3 separate regions of the Homo sapiens genome follow, and all the other regions are linked to region 1. The links are contacts of gene promoters, found by promoter capture Hi-C in human tissues and cell types (Jung and others, 2019). All regions are on one chromosome and are shown on one strand. Each heading gives the region's core, a stretch centred on a gene start or on the middle of the fragment in contact. The rest is flanking DNA. Distances are from core to core; before and after follow the strand shown. Region 1 holds the start of ZBTB43 (zinc finger and BTB domain containing 43). Region 2 overlaps MVB12B (multivesicular body subunit 12B). Region 3 has its middle 88 kb from the start of LMX1B-DT.

What was found. The method cuts DNA at HindIII sites, captures the fragments that hold promoters and counts their contacts. A contact is called where the count stands out against the background at its distance.
Region 2: a fragment that was not itself captured here is called in contact with the fragment with the promoter of ZBTB43 in region 1 in 1 of the 25 tissues and cell types used here (H1 embryonic stem cells).
Region 3: a contact is called between a fragment that was not itself captured here and the fragment with the promoter of ZBTB43 in region 1, in 3 of the 25 tissues and cell types used here (IMR-90 fibroblasts, dorsolateral prefrontal cortex and liver).

What each region holds. Positions count from the first base shown.
Region 1 is chr9:126,803,070-126,807,523 of GRCh38, forward strand. It overlaps ZBTB43 (zinc finger and BTB domain containing 43), which reads left to right and starts at 1,971. Exons shown (of 3, transcript NM_014007.4): 1 at 1,971-2,063. RefSeq lists a silencer at 1,586-1,635 and enhancers at 1,697-2,198, 2,266-2,325, 2,736-2,845, 2,996-3,145. The HindIII fragment of the contact is 16,594 bases long and covers 1-4,454 here.
Region 2 is chr9:126,329,838-126,334,291 of GRCh38, forward strand. The region is part of intron 1 of MVB12B (multivesicular body subunit 12B); the gene reads left to right. Among named protein-coding and RNA genes, the nearest start is that of MVB12B, 5.2 kb to the left of the region's middle. The HindIII fragment of the contact is 4,706 bases long and covers 227-4,454 here.
Region 3 is chr9:126,523,751-126,528,204 of GRCh38, forward strand. No RefSeq gene overlaps it. Among named protein-coding and RNA genes, the nearest start is that of LMX1B-DT, 88 kb to the right of the region's middle. The HindIII fragment of the contact is 6,412 bases long and covers 1-4,454 here.

The DNA of each region.
Region 1 (4,454 bases), core at 721-3,220:
CTGACTTTTTTTTTGCAAGTGTATCCATGCGTTTAAGAGGGTATTCTAAATATTTCTTCTAGCAATTTTATATATTTTGTTGTAGTAATATTTGTAAATATATAGTCCTCAATATTGCCAGAAATAAAGTCCAAGTAAGAAGTTTATTTGGCTCATGCAACAAAACACTTAAGGGTGTCCAAAGCTGGAACTGTGGCCTAATGTCATATGGGACCTAGGTTCTCTCAATCTTCCTGCTTTGCCAGCCTTAGCATTTACTTACCACTTCATAGGCACATGATGGCAGTTGAACTTCCAAACTTCAGGTCTGCTTAGAGGCAGGAATAAAAGTGGCAAAACACTTAAAGAGTATACTCAACTAGGCTGGGTGCAGTTGCTCACGCCTGTAATCCCAGCACTTTGGGAGGCCGAGGCGGTTGGATCATGAGGTCAGGAGTTTGAGACCAGCCTGGCCAAGATGGTGAAACCCCGTCTCTACTAAAAATACAAAAATTAGCCAGGCATGGTGGCATGCACCTGTAGTCTCAGCTACTCGGGAGGCTGAGGCAGGAGAATCGTTTGAACCTGGGAGGCGGAGGTTGCAGTGAGCCAAGATTGTGCCACTGCATTCCAGCCTGGGCAACAGAGCAAGAATTCGTCTCCAAAAAAAAACAAAACAAAACAAAACAAAACCACAAGGCGGGGGAGCTGGAGCATACATGTTTGAAGTAGAATCTTTGACAAGCTGTTCTGCATCCACTCCCATTTCTGTGCTTCCATATTTGTTTTCTTTCATTTTGTTTTCTAGAAAAAAAAATTTTTTTGGTAGAATTCTCTAGGAAAGCTACACTCCTGTGTCCTAGGGCCCAACAACAAGCAAGACAGGCATAACAGCTGGGAAACCAATCAGCTTAAACTGAGACAGACAATATCAAACAGGCATGTCAGGCCCCACGAGAACATCCACCCTAAATCCAGAAGGCATTATGACCACATCGCTTCAGCTGCCTGGATTTCAGGTATAAATTAGTTCTTCTACAAAGAGGGCACTTGGTCTGTAAACGGGTCCAAAGGTAAGAGTCCCACCGCTAAAGACCTATCTCTCTTCTACACTAACATGGGGGGGCAGTGGGGAAGAAAGGGGCGAGAAGAGGTATGGAGGTTTTGGGAGGGAGTGGGAGAATTGGAGGCTAGAGAGATCGTTTCTGTCCCACCATCTGTGTGACCCCAGTGCCCAGCACAATGCAGCCCACGGAAAGGCACTGGTCCTTTCATTGACCATTTACTGAGCATCTACTACATGCCAAAAAGCGAGATGGGTGCTGTGAAGGCAGAAACGGATTTGGAGATAATCTCCGCCAGGCATACTGAGGTCAAGGTTTTCGTTCGTTTGTTTAGAGAAGAGACGGAGAAGGTCAAGGTGTTTTTGTTTGTTTTGTTGTTGTTGTTGTTGTTGTTTAAGAGTCTTGCTCTGTGCTCAGGCTGGAGTGCAGCGGCGTGATCTCGGCTCACTGCAACCTCTGCCTCACGGGTTCAGGCAATTCTCCTGTCTCAGCTTCCCAAGTAGCTGGGATTACAGGCGCGCGCAACCACGCTCAGCTAATTTTTGTATGTTTTGTAGAGACAGGGTTTCACCATGTTGGCCAGGATGGTCTCGAACTCCTAGCCTCAAGCGATCATCCCCTCTCGGCCTCCCAAAGTGCAGGGATTACAGACGTGGGCTACCGCGCCTGGCCTATGCCAAGGTTTCAAGAAGGTTTAGAACTCAGTATCTGCTCCCCTATTTTCAACAGCGTAGTCAGTCCCTAAAATTGACCCGCTCCAGAGTGTACTGCGCAGGCGCCCGCTACCTCCGCGCTCTCTCCCGACGCCCAGCTCAGACGGTAAGTCCCGCATGCGCACTCCGCTTTCTCTCTGACGCACCCCCGGAAGCACTGTCAGTTTCGGGGGGCGGGACCGGGAAGCGTTTCCGGGGGCTGAAGGCACAGGCTGAATCTGTTGCGGCAGCTGAGGCTACAACAGGCCTGCGCCGGCGGCAGAGAGGATATCTTGGGCGGGGGATGTGAGCGCTGAGCCCTTGGCAGGTACTGCGTGGCCAGGACCACGGGCGGCAAGGGTAGGGGAGGAGAAGTCGGTGGGGGAGTTAAGGGCTCCTCAGCAGGCCCCGACGCTCGCGCCGCTGGCCCCGCCAGGCCCATTCCGTGGACCGGCATACCAAAGCCCCGCGCGGGAGGTTGGGGTCCCGGCGCTCCAGCTCCGAATCCCGCAGTCTTCTGCCCACACGGCGCGCAGACCGCGATACCGAGGCCTTTGGGGCAGCTTCTCGCCCAAGGTCACCCTCGCGGCGGCGGAGCTCCGCCGGCCACAGCGCTTAGAGATCCCGCCCCCGTCCGTCCGCTGGCCTTTCGGGGCGTAGGGTGGGCGCGGCTTGACGACCTCGGGTTCGAGCCACCAATGCCTGAGGCCTGACGAGCCGAGCTGGGAGAAAGACTGCGCCTGGACTTAGCTGATCTTCTGTTTAAGTAAAACATTCAGCATCCCCTGTTGCTGTCTCTGTCACCTGTTGTAACCTGCCCTTTTTGTCTTTCAGCTAGGTCGCTGTCAACCTGATATTTCTCTCCACTTTGTCTTTGTCGGGGTATCTGGATCCTGTTTTATATCTGTCTCCACCTTGCTTCTGTGTCTGTTCACCCTGTCTCTGCCACTCAGCCCTTACTCTAATTCAGGGCCTGTCAGTCTGGCTTTTTGGCCATCTGTCTGTTTCTCTCTTTCTGCCAACTTTGTTTTTGCCTCTTGTCTCTCTTTCCTGAGTTTGGGTGGGGCAGGGCTGCCCAGACCTCTGAGCCATGGAAGGTGACTCATGACCCCGTGAAGTTCCCTGCACTGGTGACACTCTCAGTGACTCGACCGCAGTTTGGCCTCAACTCTGACAGGTGTCGCCCAACATAAGTGTCAGAGTGCAGGAGAGCCTGTCAGGGAGACAGGAGGCCCATTTTAGGGCCAGAGCAGCTTGATGAGTCCTCTCCTTTTCTCGCCTGTGGTTTCTCAGGCCTGCACAGCTTCCCAAATGCCTTCGCTCTATCCACTCACCACAGGATGGTCTCCAGGGATCTCTGGAGCCTGCTCTTTGAGTTACAGCTGTTTAACAGGCCTGTCTACAGGCTAAGAAAGGATCAGACTGAGGTCTTTGGGGCTACTGGAACAGTAGCAGGGTTTCTGGGATAACTGCATGCTTAGTTCAGAGATTGTGTCAGCATTTTCAGTTAAATTATAAGAAACCTAATAATTGGGAATTTATTATTTGCTTTATAAAAGCACCACGGGAGAAATAAACCACACACAAAAGGACAAATGTTGTTTGAGAGCACTTAAATGAAGTACCTAGAATAAACCAATTAAGAGACGGAAAGTAGAATAGTTTACCAGGGGCTGGGGAGAGGAGTTATTGCTTAATGTTACAGAACAGAGTTTTGGGGGATGATGAATAAGGTCTGGAAATGGGTTGTGATGATTGCACAACATTGTGAATGTACTTCACTGAATTGGACTCTTAAAATTACTTAAAATTGTTAAGTCTTAAAGTTTTATGTATATTTTATACAATACAAAAAACAAAAACAGTATTCATTGGAGACTCCTGAAACCAATAAGCTCCTTTTACATGTAATTTTTCAAAATTCATTCTGTAGTTGTTAGGAACACAGTTGAACCTGTGTTTATTGATTCCTACTCTCTTTACAGCAGTGGGTACAGCTGAGGTTCTTAGAAAAGTTTAGTTAAATGAATTTGGTTAAAATCTTTCTCAGGCTTTCTACTTACTTTCTGCCCTGGCTCTCCTCCCTCTGCCTTTCTTGGAATCAGTGCAAGAATGTGCTCATAAGTAGGATACTTGATAATTATGCTTTTCACAGGAAGAAAACTCATAAGGTTGAAAAATAGCCCTTTTATTATAATGCAAAATTATGTGTTATTTCTTGAGTTTCGTTATGGGGGATGCCTTTGTGGTTTTTTTGTTTTTTAAAATCTCTTATTTAAGCTGTCTATTTGCCTTTAAGGTAGTTTATCAAGCTTTCTAATAAGATATCACAACTGAATTACTACTTTATTTAATTGAATCCTAGATGCTGTTATTTCATGTACCACCAAGGAAGGGAGAAACCCTGCTAATTGAACTATGGCTTAATACGCTCTTATCGTTTAGACTTTTTATTATTGAAAACACTTTTAGACTTAGACACTAAAACATGGTATCAATGCCTATTCTAATGCATATATACAAAGGAAAAATAAGAACACATTGGTTAAAGTGTTCGTTAAACTTAACATTCCAAGTTCTACTCTTCTGTGCACTTTTCAATTCAGAGTGTGTCCATATTTTTTCTAGAGTGTCATCCTTTGTGTCATCAAGAACATTGATGAGGACCTCAGCAGTTCTCTATCATTGTCTCAGGCAGTGACAGCTATTAAAACTGCCA
Region 2 (4,454 bases), core at 1,330-3,829, 470 kb before region 1:
GGGTTTCTTGAATAGACTCCTTCTCCCCAGGCTGCTCTGGCTCTCACCGAGGCCCACCCTGGCCAGCATTTCCCCAACCCACCCCGCCCCCAACCCCGGCTCTCCTTGGCCTTCTGCTTGCTGGGCTGCCCTAGGGAATCGTGGCTTCCCTGCGCTGTCTGCACTAGTTGCAGTGGGTTTGCCAGAGTCAGGTCTCCTGTCTCCGGCTGCCTGGGAGGCAAAGCCACTGCAGAGTGTGCTTGACATTACCTCCCTTGTTGGGGACATCCTGTGGGCATGCATTTGGTTTACTTGACACGCTTCTGGCGAGATGCAGAGCTTGTCCAGGCAGAAATGTGAGAGCCCTGTGGGCCTGGAGCCCAGGGGTTGCACATAGTAGCTTTGTGGCTCATACTTCCCTTAGGACTGGAGGGCCATCTTGTTGGACCTGTGGCAGGAGTCAACATGAGTTTGTTCTTTCTTTCTTTACACACACACACACACACACATACACACACACTTAAAAAAAACAGATTCTAATCAGCAGAGCAGAATATTCAAAAGAATATCCCCTGATCCTTTAGAAGAGAGAAATAAATGAGTTTGTAATGCACTAAATATGCCTGTGGTGTTGATGAAAATGCAGATTCTAGGACCTCATACTCAGACTTTATTGAGTCAGAATCTCTGGGGAACGGGACCTGGAATCTGCAGTCTTAACAGACACCTTGGGTTATACTTCTTCTTACTGAAATTAGAGACCTACAGTTCTTGATGCTTTCTAAAAAAGTGTTAAATACACGTAACATAAAATTGACCATCCTACTCATCTTTAAGTGCACAGATCGGTGGCATTATGCACATTCACACTGTGGTGCAACTAAGCTCCAGAACTTTTCATCTTGCAAAACCGAAACGCTGTGCTCATAAAACAACTTTGCATTTCCCCCTTTCCTGACCCCTGGCAACCACCATTCTGCTTTGTGTTTCTGTGAGTTTGACTACCCTAGGTAGTCAAACTGTGTGATCCTAGTGGATCATACAGTATTTGTCTTTTTGTGACTGGCTTGTTTAGTTTAGCATACTGTCCTCAAGGTTCATCATGTTGTAGCATATTTCAGAATTTCCTTCCTTTTTAAGGCTGAATAATACTCCATTGAATATGTGGACCATATTTTGTTCATTCATCCATAGATGGATGCTTGGGTTGCTTCTGTCTTTTGGCTATTGTGAATAATGTTGCTCTGAACATGGGTCTACAATTCTCTTTGAGACCCCGATTTAAATTCTTTTGTGTAGATACCCAGAAGTGGAATTGCTGGATCATATGGTAATTCTATTTATAATTTTCTGCGGAACCACCACACTGTTTTCCATAACATAGTGGCTGTGCCATTTTACATTCCCACCAGCAGTGTGCCAGAGTTTCCAATCTCTTCACATGCTTGCGAACAGTTATTTTGTTTGTATGTTTGTTTGTTTTTGGTAGTAGCCATCGTAATGAGTATAAGGTGAGATGTCATTTGGATTTGCATTTCCCTAGTGGCAAGTGATGTTGAGCATCTTTTTGGGTGCTGGTTGGCTATTCGTATATTGTCTTTGGAAAGACTTGTTATTCAAGTCCTTTGCCCATTTTTAAATTAAGGAATTTGTTTTTTTGTTGTTGATTTGTAGGAGTTTTTTATAGATCCACATATTAACTCCTCATCAGATACATGATTTGCAAATATTTCCTCCCATTCCATAGGTTGCCTTTTTACTCTGTTGATTGCCTTTTGCTGCAAATTCTTGATGCTTTCTACACATTATAACCCTGTAGAAACAATATTATTTGCTATTCCGGTTTTATAGGGATGGAAACTCAGGCCCAGTTTAGTTTAACTTGCCTAAGGTTGTACAGTAAGTGTCAGAGCTGGAATTCAAGCTCGGGTCCCTTGGACTCCAAAGGGGGCACCCATCCCATTCCTCTGCTCTGCCTGACTTTCCCCCCTTAGAGCTAATAGCATAAGGAGGCCCCATGGGGGTCTGAAGGAAGGGGCGTTGGTTGGAGAAATGTTCAGTTGCAGGTGGGGAAGTATGAACGGAAGGCCTGGGAATCTCTTCCATTAGACCACTGGGGTGCCCCTTCCTGTAGCTCAACATCATTGCTTAGATCTCAGAAACAGCAGAGAAGTGCAGACAGGTTTTTTAGTTCAGTTTGATTGTGTTTTGTTTATTTGTTTTCTTAAGCATTTTATAAGCTTGTTTCAGAGCCCATCTGCTCCTTGCAGTTCCCCGAGCAGTCCCTGTGTGTTCACACCACGGTGCCTTTGTTGAGGCTGTGTCATCTGCTTGCAAGACTTTCACCACTTCACACACCCCCGTCTTTCAGGGAGGCCAGTTCTTTGCTCACCTTTCCCTGCGTCACCAGGCAGAAGGAAGAGTCCCCTCCTTTGCAGTCCCTTTCTCTTGGGATATTTCCCACAGCCTGTGAGTTCCATGTCTTATTCATTGCTCTATCACCCAGCACTGTGGAGCTTCTCCTTGGCTGTGCACTCTCCAGTCTCAGTCCCAGCCTGAACCAATTAAATGAGAACCTGAGGATAGGGAATGGGAAAGCTGTGCTTCTACAAGCTCTCCGGGGCATTCTTCCTGCAGCCAGCCTGGGCACCCACTGGCCCCTGACAGGCCCACATCCAGCCTGGCTGCACTGAGTTAGATCTAAATCTGGAACTCCCTGGAAGTGCTGCAGTCCCTTCCCCCGTCCTCTGTAAGTGGCTCACCCCTGGGGTCATGGTGTGTGTCCTGTATGGAGGAATCAGTGACCCCAGACCCCGGGCTTTCACTGGAAGGGGTCTGACAGCTCTGCTGTTCCCCCGCCCCTTTATGTGCCCCTGCCCCTTTATGTGGCCCCACCCCTTTATGTGCCCTCTCCCCTTTATGTGCCCTCCTTAATCCAGTGAAACTTGGCAATTTTGAGAGGATAGGAATTTTGTTTGTTTATCCTTCCCCCATTCATTCATAATCCATTTATTGAGCACCCACCATAAGCTGGGCATTGTGGTGGACATAACACACCTTTGAGTAACTTACGGTCTGCTAGGGAAAGCATGTTCTAGCCTTCTGAGAGGAAAGGCTGTGTGTGTATGTGTATGTGTGCACGAGTGCATGTGTGCACATACGTGTGCTAAGACTACGTGCTTGCATGATGTCAGGATTCTGAGTGGTGGCACCTGTCTGACTGGGAAATTGGAGAAAGTTTGAGGGGAATGGAAGATGTGACCCTGGTGTTTTGTTTTGTTTTTTTTTGAGACAGACTCTCACTCTGTCACCCAGGCTAGAGTGCAGTGGTGCAATCTTGGCTCACTGCAACCTCCGCCACCCAGGTTCAAGTGATTCTTCTGCCTCAGCCTCCCGAGTAGGTGGGACTACAGGTGCGTGCCACCATGCCTGGCTAATTTTTGTATTTTTAGTAAAGACAGGATTTCACCATATGGGCCAGGCTGGTCTCGAACTCCTGACCTTGTGATCTGTCCGCCTCGGACTCCCAAGGTGCTGGGATTACAGGCGTGAGCCACTGCGCCTGGCCATGACCCTGGTTTTATTTATTTACTTATTTATTTTTTTGAGATGAGGTCTGGCTCTGTCACCCAGCCTGGAGTGCAGTGGCACCATCTCAGCTCACTGCAACCTCCACCTCCTGGGTTTAAGCGATTCTTGTGCCTCACCCTCTCGAGTAGCTGGGATTACAGGCACCACCACCACACCCAGCTAATTTTTGTATTTTTAGTAGAGATGCGGTTTTGCCATGTTGGCCAGGCTGGTCTCAAACTCCTGACCTCAAGTGATCTGCCCACCTTGGCCTCAGAGTGCTGGGATTACAGGCGTGAGCCACCATGCCCGTGTGTGACCCTGGTTTTAAATGGTGGGGTGGGTATCTGCAGGGGAGGAACCTGGTGCCCTTGGGTGAACTGTCAAGAGGAAGGAGGGGGAGACTGGAGGGCTGATTCTGAGGCTTTTCTCCATGGAAGATTACCTTTAGGTTCATTCCATCCATCCATCCATCCATCCATCCATCCATCCATCCATCCATTCGTTCATCAAATACCTGATGAATACCTGCTCTCTTGTACTTAAATTTTGGACTGTAGACCAGCTGTTTTAGTGTCAGCTGGGAGCTGTTACAAATGCATGTTCTTAGACCAGCTCAGGCCTACTGCATCAGTATCTCAGGGGGTGGGGTTCAGGAATGTCCGTTTTAACGACCTCTTCTGGTGATTTTTGCACATGCTAAAGTTGGATAACTCCCACTCCAGAATGTGGACTTTCCGTCTCATTACTGTAGCCTCAGTGCTTAGCCCAAGTGGCTCCGTAGTCATCTGTGGACTCACTGTTCACGCGCCAGGCCCTCTTAGAGACCGGGAATGTAGGAGGATGCTTCAGGGGGAAGATGGCAAGGTCAGCTGAATTTGAGGTATTCCTGAGCCATGTGGGCA
Region 3 (4,454 bases), core at 1,388-3,887, 280 kb before region 1:
CATTCTCTCCTAGTGACAATATTCTGGCTTTCCTGGTAAACAGTAGTGAGCAAGCAGGTCACATGGGGACGGGGTGGGTGTCACCATCATTCAGAAACAGGAAACCTTACAAGGCAGCCAGTCACGGCCACCAGAACCCCACTTTTTTTTTCTCACTGTGGCAAAATACAGATCATGCAACATTCACCCACTTAACCATATCTAAAAGTACAGTTTGGTAGCATTAAGTACCTTCACGTTGTTGTACAATCATCACCCCATTCATTTCTAGAACTCATTTCATCTTGCAAAACCGAAACTCTGTCCCCACTACGTAAGAACGCCCCACTCCTCCGTCCCCCAGCCCTTGGCAATCTCCATTCCATTTTCTGCCTCTATAAACTTGACTTCTCTAGATGCCTCATATAACTGGATTCATTCTGCATTGTCTTTTTGTAACTGGCTTATTTCACTTAGTATAACATCCTCCAGGTTCACCGTGTTGTAGCATGTGTTGTAATTTTGCCCCTTTTTAAGGCTGAATAATATTCTGTTCCCAAAGCCCTATTTCTAACATTACACAGAGCACAGACCCACATTCTGACATGAGAACACCCCAGATCTGCTCTTGGGACATCCATACATGCACCAAAATGCACCCTCGCCCCTCCAGTCTCTGTGCACATATGAGGACCACCCTCCTGGACCTGTGAGATGCTCGGTCACACCCACAGATAAATGCAGTCACCCCACAGCCTCCATCTGCAGCTCTCACCTGGGCACGCCCCAACGCACACCCCCCATCAGAAGGAGTCGTGGGAGATTTTGCAGATTCTTGGGGACATCATAGCTGGAAGATCCAGGGACCCATCTCAGCCCTGGGTCGAGATGGGGAGATTTTGGCACTTGAACCCCTCCACTGTCCCTGTCTCCAGGTCCCCTCCACAGGGTAAAGAAAAGGGTTGCTCAGCACCTGGGAAGGCCCCACATCTCCCCACCCAAGCTTAGCTTCCGTGACCCCAAGGGGAGCTGAGGACTTGGTCGCGGGGAAGCCCAATCAGCCCAGGTCTCACAGAGATTCAGCCCAGATCCAATCTGCCTGCCAAGCTCCACCCCCCTCTCCTCTGGACGGGGCAGAACTGGGAAAACAGGAGCCTCTATGCCCAGGAGCATGAAGGGGGACCCAGGGGTGGCCTCTGGCCTGGGACGTGTTCCCTGTGCACATCCCAAGCACCTACCCTACTAGCGTGGTGCTCTGCTCCCCTGGAGATCTCAAACTTTGGAATGGGAGTGTCATTCCATCTTTCTCCAGCTGCCCCGCAGGGGGACCAAGCTCAAAGGAAGCTTTGCGAACAGTAATACAACACAGTACCTCCTCATCTAACGAAGGTCTCAACGCTTACGCCTTGACTAATTCCCAAAATCCCTCCGTCTCAAATCACTGTTAATTTTCTTCAGATGATAATGGTGTTGTGGTTAGAGAATATCCTCATTCTTAGAAAAGCACACGAAAGTATTTAGGGATGATGCCTGGAACTTACTTTCAAACTTACGGCAAAAAATACATAGCTCTAGAGATGTATCTACACAGACAGATAAAGCAAGCGTGTGACATGGTTACGCGTCAGCTCTAGGATGGGCTCTGAGAGTGTTCCTTGTTCTTCCTTCAACTCTTCTGTATGTTTGGATATTTTCATCATACAAATTTGGGAGGAAAAACCCCTCGCCCTCATCATGGCCGTCCTTTGATTACCTGCTCTCCCTCTGCACGCTGTCATCATGAAGTGACCAGGAAGTCCAAGAGGATTTGTCAATGGTAGGACGTGGAAAGAACGTTCTGCCGGGTACACGGGCAGGAATATGCAACTTCCTGCCTCCCAGCAGAGGCGTCGTGTGGCTCAGCCGCGAGCTGCTGAAGGAGCTCTTTCGGACGGGAGCATGAAGCTGCTCCAGGGTGGCTTCCCCACCACACGCCATCCCTAGAGAGAAACAGGAGGGCTGTCCCCAGACACTGAACAAGAAGGTCTCTCCCCAGCCCTCTCTCTTCATGGCCTAGCTGTGCTCTGTGGTGTCCCAAACAGCTGTGAAGTGTGTGGCACAGAATCCATTGCTCATAAGAACCAGAAACCGGCTGGGTGAGGTGGGTTATGCCAGTAATCCCAGCACTTTAGGAGGCCGAGGTGGGTGAATCACTGGAGCTCAGGAGTTCGAGACCAGCCTGACCAATATGGTGAAACCCCATCTCTACTAAAAACGCAAAAATTAGCCAGGTGTGGTGGCATGTGCCTGTAGTCCCAGCTACTCAGGAGGCTGAGGCAGGAGAATCGCTTGAACACGGGAGGCAGAGGTTGCAGTGAGCCAAAACCACGACACTATACTCCAGCCTGGGTGAGAGAGTGAGACGCTCTCTCAAAAGAAAAAAAAAAAAAAAAACAAGAACCAGAAACCCTTCCATGAATGCAGGACCACACCTCTTTCACTCTTGCTGTCTCCCCAGCACCAACCCAGGGCCTGACACGCAGCGGGCACTCGGAGTAAATTAAAGCTTACAGCCAATGTTCTCTCTTTTACAAGTTAGAACAAATTTCAGGTCATTCCTCATAGCCTGCCAACTTTAGAGATAAGAGGTGAATGGCCTGCAGTGAATGGGACCCTGGCCACCCCTGCCGCCTGACCCGGGTGGCTGCAGCTGGGGATGAGCGAGCTGTAGCCGGGAGGAGGCTGAGGAGCCTGGCAGAAAAGCCTCAGGAGCTGGAGGCTGGGATCACGGCAGGAGGAAGGCAACTGGGGTCAGAAGATGGAGAGCAGGCCAGAGCCGGGGCATTCTGGAGCTGCCTTTGACCCTAGGACAACTTCCAAATGAGGACCCTGGGACTGGGACCAGGCAGCCTCTCCCTGGCCGTTCAATGTCTGCCGGCCAGGAAGGAAGGCCTCCTCGGACAAGGAGGAAGCACCGGAGAGGGTGTTTGTTTTAATCATCGGAGATCAAAGACAAGTCCCACCGGGCTGGTGGTCCTCCTGGGGTAGCCAGGCCCTTTCCTCTCCTCCTGCCCCAGAGTGGCTAACTCCACACCCCCCATTCCTTCCAGAGCTGCTGCCCAGGACAGCCGGGGCTCAGGGAGACCTCTGGACACTGCATCCTTCCAGGGCATAGAGAGTGAGGTAGGGATAGGTGTCCAGAGACCTTAGAGCTGAGGCCTTGCTGACTTTATGGCTGTGACCTCACAGAGAGCCCAGTCATGGGTAAGAGAAACGAGAGAGGGATGGTGCAGCTAGAAAACTGCCATGTCCAGGGGGCCAGCTAAGGCTCCCCCACCTTCAGGAAGGCCAGTGGTTGAGAGCAGGGCCCAGGGATGACAGATTCGGTCCGATTTTGCCTCTGATCAGTGAGCCACCTAGTTCTCGGAGCCTCTGTTTGCTCTTCTGGAAAAGGGGCACAGGGCTGCTACTGCCATGAATAGCATTTGTCAAATACTTGGCTCAGAGCCTGACGCGGAGTGAGTGCTCCGTGAGCAGCCAGTGTTCTTGTCATCAGTGTTGTTAGCCTGTGTGCCCTCATGATGCGAGGGACCTCCTGGCTGCTGCGATTTGCTGAGATGCATTCAAGGTTTTGCTTCTACTGGGGGACCAGCAGAACAATCGTGACGGGCAAGTGGGTCTGGATATCAAGCCCTGCAAAGTGACCTGGGCCAGTGACACCCCCACAGGGCCTGCCATCTCCCTGCCCCACACGCCTGGGTGCCCCAGGAGGTGGGCTGGTCTCTATTGCCCGAGGACAGAGGCCAGCGACTTTGTCCCTGCTCTGTTTGCCATGAAAGAGCAAAACCACCACAGGGTTCAAAGGAAAAGAGGAAAACCCAGTAACTCGTCCCAGACGGTCTGTCCCCTTTATCAAAGCTGATTTCAGGGAGCAAAGTTCCCACCAGGAGAGGCCACAGCCTCATTAGAGAGTTCTGGGAATGATGAAAAGCCAGGCCGCCGTGCACATCCCTGGGACAATTAGGCCTTGTCCCTCTGCCTTCAAAGGCAATCTCACTGTCTCTGCGCGTGTGTGCGCACGTGAGAGGGTATGACAGTATCTCCGTGGGTCTCTCTTCTTCCTCTTAGTATTTCTTTTTGGCTCTCCCTGTCTTTTTCTGTTCTCTGTCTTTTCCAACTATCCTTTAACCCCTCTCAGTACCCAGGCACTCTGCATGTTTGAGATGATCCCTCTTCTGCCCACTGGGTACCTAGATGTCTAGATGTCCTAGACCAGACAAAACCTGCCCCAGGAGACCTCCCCTTCATGTCCTCAGAGGAGGCCCCAGACACTGCCCCCCGCCACCAGACACCCAGCTTAACCAAAAGATGGGAATGGTGCAATCACTTCCACGGATCCCTTCCTCTGAACTCCAATTCTCCCCATCATGAGGACAGAATGCAAACTATTCCCCCACAGCAAACTCCGGTTTCCGGATGCCTCTGTTGGATACAGC